Regions from separate parts of the Homo sapiens genome. Here all the other regions are linked to region 1. Evidence: promoter capture Hi-C in 16 types of primary human blood cells and fetal thymus (Javierre and others, 2016). All regions are on one chromosome and are shown on one strand. Each heading gives the region's core, a stretch centred on a gene start or on the middle of the fragment in contact. The rest is flanking DNA. Distances are from core to core; before and after follow the strand shown.

What was found. Contacts are between HindIII fragments. The CHiCAGO score rates a contact against its expected background, and 5 or more counts as called.
Region 2: a contact is called between a fragment that was not itself captured here and the fragment with the promoter of PC in region 1, in 1 of 17 cell types (endothelial precursors). The highest score is 6.0, in endothelial precursors.
Region 3: a contact is called between the fragment with the promoter of ANKRD13D here and the fragment with the promoter of PC in region 1, in 8 of 17 cell types (fetal thymus, erythroblasts, total B cells and 5 more). The highest score is 9.8, in fetal thymus.

What each region holds. Positions count from the first base shown.
Region 1 is chr11:66,956,299-66,959,760 of GRCh38, reverse strand. It overlaps PC (pyruvate carboxylase), which reads left to right and starts at 1,378. Exons shown (of 23, transcript NM_001040716.2): 1 at 1,378-1,439. RefSeq lists silencers at 941-1,300, 1,621-1,720 and enhancers at 1,371-1,420, 2,584-2,963. The HindIII fragment of the contact is 4,821 bases long and covers 618-3,462 here.
Region 2 is chr11:66,691,654-66,695,558 of GRCh38, reverse strand. SPTBN2 (spectrin beta, non-erythrocytic 2) reads left to right here. Exons shown (of 38, transcript NM_006946.4): 22 at 1,196-1,420; 23 at 1,698-1,787; 24 at 2,113-2,373; 25 at 2,459-2,589; 26 at 2,819-3,023; 27 at 3,901-3,905. Among named protein-coding and RNA genes, the nearest start is that of RBM4B, 16 kb to the right of the region's middle. RefSeq lists an enhancer at 242-742. The HindIII fragment of the contact is 9,386 bases long and covers 1-3,905 here.
Region 3 is chr11:67,288,019-67,291,943 of GRCh38, reverse strand. It overlaps ANKRD13D (ankyrin repeat domain 13D), which reads right to left and starts at 2,641. Exons shown (of 15, transcript NM_207354.3): 1 at 2,394-2,641; 2 at 1,731-1,866; 3 at 1,498-1,622; 4 at 423-468; 5 at 198-341. The coding sequence starts at 2,483. RefSeq lists enhancers at 444-1,366, 1,367-2,291, 3,526-3,735 and silencers at 2,286-3,055, 3,236-3,305. The HindIII fragment of the contact is 22,420 bases long and covers 1-3,925 here.

The DNA of each region.
Region 1 (3,462 bases), core at 129-2,628:
TAAGCCTTGAAGCTGAGTCACTGCAACACCCTCTTCCAAAAGAATAGCTGTTACTAGCATTAGGCATCAGCCATATCCACACGGAAAGGTAAAAACCTCAGGCATTTGGGAAGGGCTGCCCCCACAGATCATTCACAAGTAAATTCTTGCTGGCCTCCCATAAACAAGGACAGGTCAATTGTAGCTTCAGGTCTACAATCTAAGTCTAGCTCCTAAAAATTCCACAATAAGAATGTCATTACAAGCTTATTTTCCCAGGTGCAGAACAAAGTCAAAACTACCTACTCAGAGACATCTGCATAACTGACTCTTCCTTTACTCTCTTTTTCTCTTCAGACATTCATCTCATCTTACGTAGATTTACCGGGCATTAGCTAAAGTCCCATAGGAATGTAACTATTGTCCTAATCGCCTACTTGCCCTTCTTCCTACATGCCTTCCCCTCATTCCCCCTTTAAGGAAATGCATAAATACTAAACCTCCCGAAAACCTCTTCGGAAAAACAACCACGGATGTGTCTGTGGTTCGTGTTTTTCCCGAGCACGCCCTCAAACTGGATTAATAAGCCTCGATGACAGAGACTTATGCCTCAGTCACTTGTTCCACTTGTCAAAGCTTTCCTCTTTGACAAGTGTCTTGGGTCTTGTCAAGTGTCTTGTGTCTCAAACAAGGCTTCCAAACCCCCTAGGTCCTGAGTAGCTTCGCTCTGCAGATGACAAAACCGAGACTCAGAGGTTAAGTTGCTTGCCCAAGGTCACACAGACGTACTGTAGACCCCCATCATCATCTACGCAGCTGTTAAAGGACATAGTCATGTAACCCGTGTGGCACAAGCGCCTTCTCCTTCCTCCTGCCCTTCGCTAACGTTAGCTTTTCCTGCGACCTCTTCTCCGCTAGCCAGCGCGTATCTGCGTCTAGCCGGGATGCCTGAGCCCCAGTGCGAACTGTTGTGCTTGCAGCTTCGGGAGACACGTGCTACTCGGGTGAATGAATCGAACGTCCCCACCCCCGCCGACAGCCAATAACTGCGAGCCACAGCCCGGCCACTTCCGCCTATTGCGGGCGTCGGCTAGGGTCCGGCGGCCCACGTGAGGCTCCGGAGACAAGGGAGTAGGCGGTGGTGCGCCAGGGGCGGGCTCTCCCAGCCTCGCCACTTATCCAGGCGCTCGCCGGGGACGGGAGGGGCGGGGCTGACGTGGGGCGCCAAGGCTTAAACGTGACGGACAGGCGGGCACAGGGAGGAGTCCAGAGCCTAGGGGCGAGGAGTGACGGAGAACACTGCCCAATAACGGGAGGGGTTGGGCTGTCTGGGCCAATAGGAAGTCCGTAAGGCGGGGCCGGGACTGCAGCAAGTTCGGTTGCACGGAGACCGCAGCTGTTCTCTGTCAGTGGAGGCAGCAGCGGTAGAGGCGGCGGCGAGGACTGGCGACGGCGAGGAGGTGAGTGTCCGCCGCGCTCCGCACGGTCCTCTTCCCGCGGCGGGTCGGAGCGGGTGGACGTGCGCCGGCACCGCTGCGAGGGACGCTTATGTAAGGGTCGCGCGCGCAAAGGCGGCGCGGGCTCCGCGAGTGACGGCTGGAGGAGACAGCGACGGGCTGTGCGCGGTGCGCGACGCGACGCAGCGGACGGCGCCCCTCCCCCTCGCGCGGGGGCTCGGCCGGCTGGACCCGCCCCCGGACCCGCCCCCGGCTGCAGCCCCCGAGCGCCCCTCCGCAGCGTCCGCCTGCGGGCTGCCTCATTCTTGCTCTCGGGCCCATTTTGCAGATGGAGAAACTGACTAAAGCGCCTCGCGCGAGGTCCCTGAGGGTTCGAACCCAAGTCTGTCAGGATCGGGAGCCCAAGTTGTCCCCATCGTACTGGATGTGGCTCAGCTCTGCAGGAAGCCGCGGCGTGTAAGGCGAGGGCTTTCCTTGTTCCTTGCTCTCGCACTCCGCCTCCCGTAGGATCCTCTACTTTGTTTCAGACGGGGAAGCTCCAGGCGCCCAGACGCAGTGATTCGCCCAAGGCCGCTCATTCAGGAGGTGGGGCTGGGCTCAGCCCCTTATTTCTCCAGCTTTTAGTAGTTTACAAAGCGCATCAGAGTCGGAAGCCAAGTCCCTAGGTCCCTGGCAACTTTGAGATTCTTTTGTTTTCTTTTCTTTTTTAGACAGGGTCTTGCTGTCACCCACCCAGGCTGGAGTGCAGTGGCGCGATCTCGGCTCACTGCAGTCTCGACCTCCCGGGCTCAAGCGACCCTCCTGCCACAGTCCCCCAGTGCTGGGACTACAGGCGGGCGCCACCACGCCTAGCTAATTTTTGTATTTTTTGGTAGAGACGAGGTTCCGTCATGTTGCCCAGGCTGGTCTCGAACTCCTACGCTCAAGCGAGCGGCCTGCCCTGGCTTCCCAAAGTGCTGAGATTACAGGCGTGCCTCGTCTGAAATTCTAAAAAATCAGATTGTGTCTTTATTTTGTGAGAAGAGGTAGGCCTGGGCTCCTTACCCGTTCTCCAGCTGAGAAAACAGGCTCAGAGAAGTACCAACACTTGCTGATGACAACCAGAACCTCCAGAGTGCCTGCCATCTGCCTCCCTATTGCTCCCGTACCCACTGCCACCATCAGCCCTGGCTGGCCTCCCCCAAGGCACCCTTTCCCTGTATGTGATGCAAACACTTGTGCTGGGGGTGGATGTGCTCAGCATTTCTCTCACTTGCAGCTACAGCTTCCTGCCTGCAGGCTCTCCTTAACTGTTGAACTCTTAATCACATTCTTTTGCACACCTACAGTGTTCCTATCCCTACACTGGGCCGAGAGACAGCGTGGGCGATGAGGTCAATCCTTGTCCTGCAACTGCTGACAAACCCATTGGGGGAGAGAGAAAATAAACAAAACCTAAGCAGCAAGGCAGCCTGCTGCAGATGTTTGTAGAGAGCCTAGTGGGTGAGGTATTGGCCCTAGGAGGACATGGAAGAGGAAGTTCAGTAGAGGCCAGTAAATCACAGCAAACCACACACTAAAGCGAGAGAGAGGAGAAATGGCCTGGAAGGGGATGGGCTTGGGAAGGCTTCGTGGAGGAGGTGAGTTGTGGACCTCTTTTTGATGCCGCTGCAGTGGAGAAACAGTGATTGGATTTCAGCAGCTAGAAAGTTTTATTCTGGAGAGGTTTTGTTAAAGAGGTTTTTTTGTTTTTGTTTTTTGAGATGGAGTTTCGCTCTTGTCGCCCAGGCTGGAGTGCAGCGGTGTGATCTCAGCTCACCACAACCTCCGCCTCCCGAGTTCAAGCGATTCTCCTGCCTCAGCATCCTGAGTAGCTGGGATTACAGGCGCATGCCACCACACCTGGCTATTTTTTGTATTTTTAGTAGAGATGGGGTTTCACCATGTTGGCCAGGCTGGTCTTGAACTCCTGACCTCAGGTGATCCGCCCACCTCGACCTCCCAAAGTGCTGGGATTATAGGCATGAGCCATCATGCCTGGCCAGTT
Region 2 (3,905 bases), core at 957-3,456, 270 kb after region 1:
GCCAGGTGTGGTGGCTCACACATGTAATCCCAACACTTTGGGAGGCCGAGGTGGCCGGATCACTTGAGTCCAGGAGTTTTGAGACTAGCCTGGGCAACATGGCAAAACCCCATCTCTACAAAAACTACAAAAATTAGCTGGGCGTGGTGGTGGTGTGTGCCTGTAGTCCCAGCTACTCAGGAGGCTGAGGTGAGAAGATTGTTTGAGCCTGGAGAGTCGAGGCTGCAGTGGGCTGTGATCGTGCCACTGCACTGCAGCCTGGGTGGCAGAGCGAGACTTGTCTCAAAAAATTTTTTAAAAAGGGGTGCAGCTGTGGTCCAATAAAAACTTTATAAGGCTAGGCAGTGGGCTGGACTTGCTGGTCCCTGCTCTGAAGAATGCAGAATGGGAAGTGTAGGGAGCAGCTGACACCTCTGGGGTTGAGGAGTCCCCCAGGAAGGAGCAAGATGGCTGAGTCTCAGACCTCCTTGGAGAGGGCGGAGGCCCACTGAATGGCCTGGAAATTTGCTGGGGTATCACAGGCCAGAGCATGTCTGAAGCCAGCAAGCCAAGGCTGGCCAGCAGGAAGTGGCCACTAGAGTGCAGCAAAACTTGCCAGAGAGTAAGAGCCACCGGATCTCTTGCGCACTGTGGACAGTTTTGCTGTAGGAGGAAGAAAAGCACCTTGGAACCGTGGAATGCCCCACATCTGCTAGGCATTGTGGTGTCCCTCCAGCGCCCTCTGCTGACAAGGCCTAGATTGTGCCTGCTGGCAAAGGAGGAATGTTTCCAGGGGCCAGTTCCAGTGTCTCAAAGCAGGGCCACGATGGATTGGGGATGGAGAGACAATGAATTGATAATGGGCACAGTTATCACACTACCCTGGATTTTTTAATTTCAATCTTTTAGATTCGCGGGTGTGGGTGCAGGTTTGTTATAAGTTATATTGTGTGATGCTGAAGTTTGGGGTGTAATTGAACCCATCACCCATGTAGTGAGCACAGTACCCAATAGGGATTTTTTCAACCCCTGCCCTTGGATTCTTGTGCATATAAAGTTCGAGATCCACTGATCCAGCCCATGAGGGGATGCTCTCCCTGGGTGAGCTGCAGTGATGAGCAGCCACAGTGGGCTGGATAGAGACTGGTTGGTGTCTCTGCTGGGCATGAAGGCGGAAATGCAGAGCTAACATGTCCTTCCTCCTGGCGGTTTGCAGATGCTGGAATGGGAGATGGCTGTGAGAGAGAAGGAGGTGGAGGCAATCCAGGCCCAGGCCAAAGCACTGGCCCAGGAGGACCAGGGTGCAGGGGAGGTGGAGAGAACCTCGAGGGCCGTGGAGGAGAAGTTCAGGGCCTTGTGCCAGCCCATGCGGGAACGCTGCCGGCGCCTGCAGGCTTCTCGCGAGCAGCACCAGTTCCACCGCGATGTGGAAGATGAGATTGTGAGTCACTGGGGCCAAGGACGGCAAGCTGCCCCCAGCCATGTGGTTCTCCAGCCTCCCTCCTGGATGCCAGGGAGATGCCAGCAGGGCTCTATTCCCTCTTCTCTTTGGCATTGACCATCTCCCCTATAGGGAGACTTGGAGATGCCTCCCAGAACCAGAGATGACTGTTCCCCACACACAGGGCGGTAGCCCCAGGTGTCCCCACTCCCACTAATCAGTCCCTGCTGCTTGCCTTGCCCTCTGGGCCTCCACTGACCCCCTCTTCCTCTTCCAGTTGTGGGTGACAGAGCGGCTGCCCATGGCCAGCTCCATGGAGCATGGCAAGGACCTGCCCAGCGTCCAGCTTCTCATGAAGAAAAACCAGGTGAGGCAGAGGCTGAAGGCAAAAGAGAAGTTCCCAGGAGCCTGCCCAGACTTGGACGTGTTTTTTCTTAAGACCAGGCCCCCCTCGATGCTGAGTGTAACCCTGGACTTCAGTGGCTGTCTTTCCTCACCTTGGGAGGGTGGGTCCTCTCAGTAGGAGATAGTGGGGGCTGGGCGGCTGACGGGTGTTACCATCGCACCCCCAGGCTAGGAGAGGGAGCAGAGGACCCAGGAAGGAGAGAGGCACAGGGGTGAAGGGTGGTCTCCGGGAGCACGTGGGGCTGGGGCAGGACTTTCAGCATTTTCTCTTCTGTGGCCATGGGCAGACCCTGCAGAAAGAGATTCAGGGCCATGAGCCCCGGATCGCGGACCTGAGGGAGCGGCAGCGTGCTCTAGGTGCAGCAGCAGCAGGTCCAGAGCTGGCTGAGCTGCAGGAAATGTGGAAACGCCTGGGCCACGAGCTGGAACTTCGAGGGAAGCGACTGGAGGATGCCCTGCGAGCCCAGCAGTTCTACCGCGATGCCGCCGAGGCGGAGGCCTGGATGGGCGAGCAGGAATTACACATGATGGGCCAGGAGAAGGCCAAGGTGAGGGCCAGGACAGAGCCCAGTGTATGTGACCAGTTCTGCCCTCCCCTGACCTGATGCTGGATGCCACTGTCCCTTCCCCCAGGATGAGCTGAGTGCCCAGGCAGAGGTGAAGAAGCACCAGGTGCTGGAGCAAGCCCTGGCCGACTACGCGCAGACCATCCACCAGCTGGCGGCCAGCAGCCAGGACATGATTGACCACGAGCACCCAGAGAGGTGGGTGCAGCGGCAGCCCGGCCCAGCCTGGGGGTGGAGCCGGCTGCAGGAACAGGAAGGTGCAGGGAATGTGGAGCCTTCAGTGCTGTGTGCACGGAGCCTTCTAGAAAGCTGGAACACAGGGTGGGCGAGCTGTTGGGAGACTCAGAGGGACAGGGCTCCACAGAACAGACCGGAGGTCAGAGCTACACCCCTAAGTCCCACAGTGCCTCCCTCACTCTTCTTGCAGCACTCGGATATCCATCCGCCAAGCCCAGGTGGACAAGCTGTATGCCGGCCTGAAGGAGCTGGCTGGAGAGCGGCGGGAGCGCCTGCAGGAGCACCTCCGGCTGTGCCAGCTCCGCCGCGAGCTGGATGACCTGGAACAGTGGATCCAGGAGCGCGAGGTGGTGGCGGCCTCCCACGAGCTGGGCCAGGACTACGAGCATGTGACTGTGAGTGTAGGGAGGGCACCCAGCTCAGATCAACCGTGGGAAGAGTGGAGGACCCACAGGGAGACTAGGACCTAGTCCCAGGCAGAGCACTGAGGGGCTAAGGGGCAAGACCAGGCTGAGCAGGCACTGTCCTCCTGGTTTTGAGGTATATGATTTGAAGAGGCCGGGCATAGGCTCACACCTGTAATCCTAGCACCTTGGGAGGCTGAGATGGGAGGATTGCTTGAGTCCAGGAGTTCAAGACCAGCCTGGGCAACATAGTGAGACCCCCCATCTCTACAAAAAAAATTTTTTTTTATTAGCCAGGCACAGCCGTGCATGCCTGTAGGCCCAACTACTTAGGAGGCTGAGGTGGGAGGATCTCTTGAGCCTGGGAGGTCGACACTGCAGTGATTGCGCTAGTGCACTCCAGAGCAAGACCCTATCATCTCTAAATACATACACACACACACAATTTGAAGAATTGTACAGAAAGGGGACATGAAGCTGAGCTGAGACAAGGGCAAACAGGAAATTATCACTCACACTTTTCAACAGAATTCAACAAAACGGAGTATGATCCACCCCCCCGACAGTTTGGGGGCTTGGACCCTCAGTCGTACAGAAATATGGACCATAGTTAGGGTATCCTTGTCTGAAGCCTAAGGGTCCCAAGCACCTTGAAACGCCTTTGCTGGGGGTGGAGGGAGTCTGTCAAATACAGGGTCAGTGGGAAGCAGCTGCACCTACTCCTTAACCACAGGGAAGAAACCTGTCCCGGCCCCCATGCAGCGGGGAGAGGTGGGTTCTGAGTTTGGAGTGGAGGACTCGCTCCATCAGGCAGGGACCACATCCCCTAACATCACGGCATGGTCTGTCCATCTGCTTCCTCTACCAGATGCT
Region 3 (3,925 bases), core at 1,392-3,891, 330 kb before region 1:
CGCCAGCAGTGCAGAGAGGGCGATCATGTACCCTCAGCCACCTGCTGCCAAGTGGGTCAGTCTTGGCCCCTGGATGCCCCTCCATCCCCAACCTCAGCTTCCACATCTGGAAAGTGGAGAGAAAAGGCAGCACCGTCCTCCCAAGCCGCAGGAAACCCAAGGGCCGAGGAGCTGCAATGAGTTTGTCCAGAGCTCACCCTGGCCCTTGAAGATGAAGCTCCTCCGGCCCCGCTGCCAGGTCATGTGCTCGAAGCCCAGGAGACTGGTGTCTACTCGCAGGCTCTCACCCCGCTTCCACACGCGGTACACATCGCTTGGGCACATCTTAGACACAAGGGGCACTGCAGGGTGCACAGGGGTCACTGGGGGTCTTTCCAAAGGCCCCACCCCAAATCCCTGGGAGCCCAGAGGTCCCCACTCACCCCAGCTGGTGAACTCCCACTTCATCTCAACGTAGAAATCGGGGGCCTAAGAGAAACCAGAGCTGCTTGTCAGCGCCCTGCCTGCTGCTGGCTCCAGCAGGCCTGGGAGCCCCTTGTCCACAGCCAGCCCAGCCCTTCATCAGGTCTTTTTTTTTTTTTTTTTTTTTTTTGAGACTTGCTCTGTCACCCAGGCTGGAGTGTAGTGGTGCAATCTCGGCTCACTGCAACCTCTGCCTCCCTGGGCTCAGGTGATTCTTCCACCTCAGCCTCCCGAGTAGCTGGGACCACAGGTGTGTGCCACCACTCCCAGCTAATTTTTGTACTTTTTGTAGAGACGGCTTTCACCATGTTGCCCAGGCTGGTCTCCACCTCCTGGGCTCAAGTGATCCGCCCACTTTGGCCTCAGAAAGCGCTGGGATTACAGGAGTAAGCCACAACGCCTGGCCCTTCATCAAGTCTTGACGCACTGCTATGGCTCAGCTACGCCCAACCACTCTGCCCTGGAGAGGGTGGGCCAAGTGGGGCACTACAGTGGTCTTCAGACAATGAGGCTGTAAGCACCTGGAGGTGGAGGGCCAGCCTCAACCTGGCCATGAGCCTGTGCAGAGCCCTGGGGGAGCCTTTGTTTCCACTGGGTCTCAGAGTCCTACTCTGTAAAGGGGGCACAGTGGCTCCCTCCGAGCCTGCTCCTGGGGTAGGGGGTATGAGATAGTATGCTCTGCCAGCCAGGCCCCTCCGTGTGCTTCCAGAAGGGTGCGTAGTAGCAAGTATTCCAGGGTTTCAGGCCATAATCCACCGAGTCAACCTGAAGTCCCTGCTCCAGGTAATCTGCATTCTTCAGGAGGCCCAAAGCTGGCAAGGCTTCTCTTCCAAAGGGTCCAGTCTCTCCCACGTGAGCCTGGCCGTCTCTCTTTCCTACGTGACCCTGGGCTGGGGTCAAGATAGACAGACCTCCTTGCTGGTGGCAGGAGGCACACTGCACAAACTGGGTGCCTTTCCAAGGCCAGGCCTGGCACAGTAACCAGGGTGGTGCCCTGCCATGGTACCCCACCTCCATAACTGTGCCCTGCTGTACCTGGCGAAGTTTGTTGAGCAGTTCCGGAATGCCCGCCAGCCTCTGCGTGGCCCTCTGGTAGTCCCGATACTGGAGCACCAGCTGCACCATCTCGGGGTCTCCAGTGCTGACTGCCTCCTGCAGGACTGCGGGCACCAGGCTGCTGAGGGGAGCCCTCCAGATGACCCCAGGCCTGGCTGCTCACTGCCCCCCGCCTGCCAGCCTCAGGGGGAGCCCCTTGTCCTCTGCAGTACCTGCCCAGCCCTGGCGGTTCTCTTTGCCCACGTTGGCATTGTGTCGAAGGAGCACTCTCACAGACTCCAGGTTTCCCAGAGACACGGCCAGCTCCAGTGGGGTCCGCCCGCGGGGGTCCTCCTGTTCAATGTCGTGCTGGGGGAGACGGGACACTCACAAAGGGCAGGAGAGAAGAGGGCAAGGCAGGGAGGCTGCCAGGGCGAGCAGGGTTGGGAATCGCTGTGGGAAATAAGGACGGCGGACTGACCAGGGAGATGGCAGAGGGTGGCCTGCGTGTCCTGGCAGGGGAGAGGAGGGGGCAGGAGGGAAGGCAGGGGCAGAGCCGGGGTCTGGCGGCGGGGCCTGGTCAGGCAGAGCTGCAGGTTGTCAGGAGTTTGGCGGAACCTGGGGACCAGGACCAGAGTTCTTGTTCTCAGCTTGGGTCAGCAAGGATGCGGAAGCGAGTTCGGGCGAGCAGGGCAAGGCCCAGCGCAGGGGAGAGGAGGCCAGAGGCTCAGGCGCGAGGGGCCGGTGACCTGGGCTTGGGATCGTGCAGGGGAGGAAGGCCCAGGATGTGGCTGCGGAGCTGAGCGGGCGGGGGGGGGGGGGGGGCTCCAGGACGGAGGCCACAGCCTTGGGTGGGGGACCCGGGGGAAGGGCCGGGTGCCCCAGCGGGGCCTCACCTGGTGGCTGTGCAGTGCGGCCTCCAGTTCGCGATGCCGGTTCGCCCAGACGAGCCGGTGCAGCGGGAAGGTGGGGCCCGGGCCGGCCATGCTGGGCCTCAGCGCCGCATCCCGGCCCCGCCTCGGCTTCGGGCCTGGCACGGCCCCCTAGCCTCCCCTCCGAGCCGCGCCCCAGCTGCGCCCCCCGCGGCCCCCGCAGCAGTAGCGGCGGCGGCGGCGGCGGCGGCAGCGCGGGCGGCAGGGAGGGCGGGGCGGGCGGCGGAGCGGGCGGGGCTGCGCCGGGCCGGGGCGGGGCTTCGCGCGCGCCCCCGTCCCCCCGCAACCATGGCAACCGCGGCCAGGCCAGCGCGCGGCAGAGCAACCGCGAGCGCCCGAGGAGATGCCCGGCCTTGGGTCTGCGCCCCGACCTCGGTCGGGCCCGGGTCCGCTGGGGCGGCCTGGAGGGCGGTGCCCGGTTACAGCTCCGCCCGCGGCCCGCAGGAGGCGCCCCGAGCCCTGCGCAGACCCCCGGAGCCGGGTCCGGAAGAGGAAGGCGGGGCCGGAGGGGGCGGGCACTGGGCCCCTCGGTAGTGCACGCGCGTGCGCGGCGGGCCGCGGTCCTGCTGCAGCCGTGATGCCTGCGTTTCCCCCGCGGATCCCCTTGCTCGCCCCGGTCTTCCTACCCCAGGTCCCGCGGTCACCGACTCTGCTGGGGTGTGCGGGTGAAGTGGGGCGCCCCGGCTCCCCTCACCCGGCCTGGAGACGAGCAACGAGCAGACGCCACTAAGTGCTTGCCGGCTGAGCGGGAAGCACCTTCCCCTGGGACCTGGCCGGTGTCTGCAGGCCCAGCGATGCGGGGAGGCGGCCCCCGGGGCCCTGAAGTCAGGGATAGGAGTTCGGGGAGAGAGGGGCGCAGGCCCAGGCAGCGGCAGAGCCGTCCCGGCGGAGGACCGCCCGCGGCGAACGGCTGCCTTCGCCCGCCGCACGAGTCCCTTTTGCAGAGGCTGCGGTTGGCTGCCAGCGTCAGGAGAGGAAGGCGAGTTTCGAAATCAGGGCCGGCCCCTCCACCCACACCGGAACTAGGGTGCAGGCCTCCGTCAGCTCAGTTCCGGCCCTTGATTACTGGAGGCCCAGCCTGGGGTCTGGGGCCCTGGTTTTGCTAGGTGGCCAAGGCTGACCCTCTATTCTCCCTTTCCCTACGTGGAACATGATTGAGGAGGGCCAGCTAGCTTGAGCATCACTTCCTGCTGTAGGGCGTCCTCAGTTCTGAGACTCTGGGCTGGAAGGCCTGATTGCCATTTTTACCCTGCCTTCTCCCTGTAGTCACATGGCGCCTGTGCCATCTGGGGTCACTTTGCCACCCCACGCTATGGTGTCAATCTGTGAGGTCCTGGGGTTGGTAGCAGCCCGAAGGCTTCTGAATGCCCAGAGCTCACCTGCTCACCACTACTGCAGCCCTCCCTGGCCACCCCTTTTCTCAGAGGCGGTCCCTTCCCTGAGCCCTCTCCAAACTCAACCCCGACAGGACTTTCTTGGTTCCAGCCTCTCCTGAT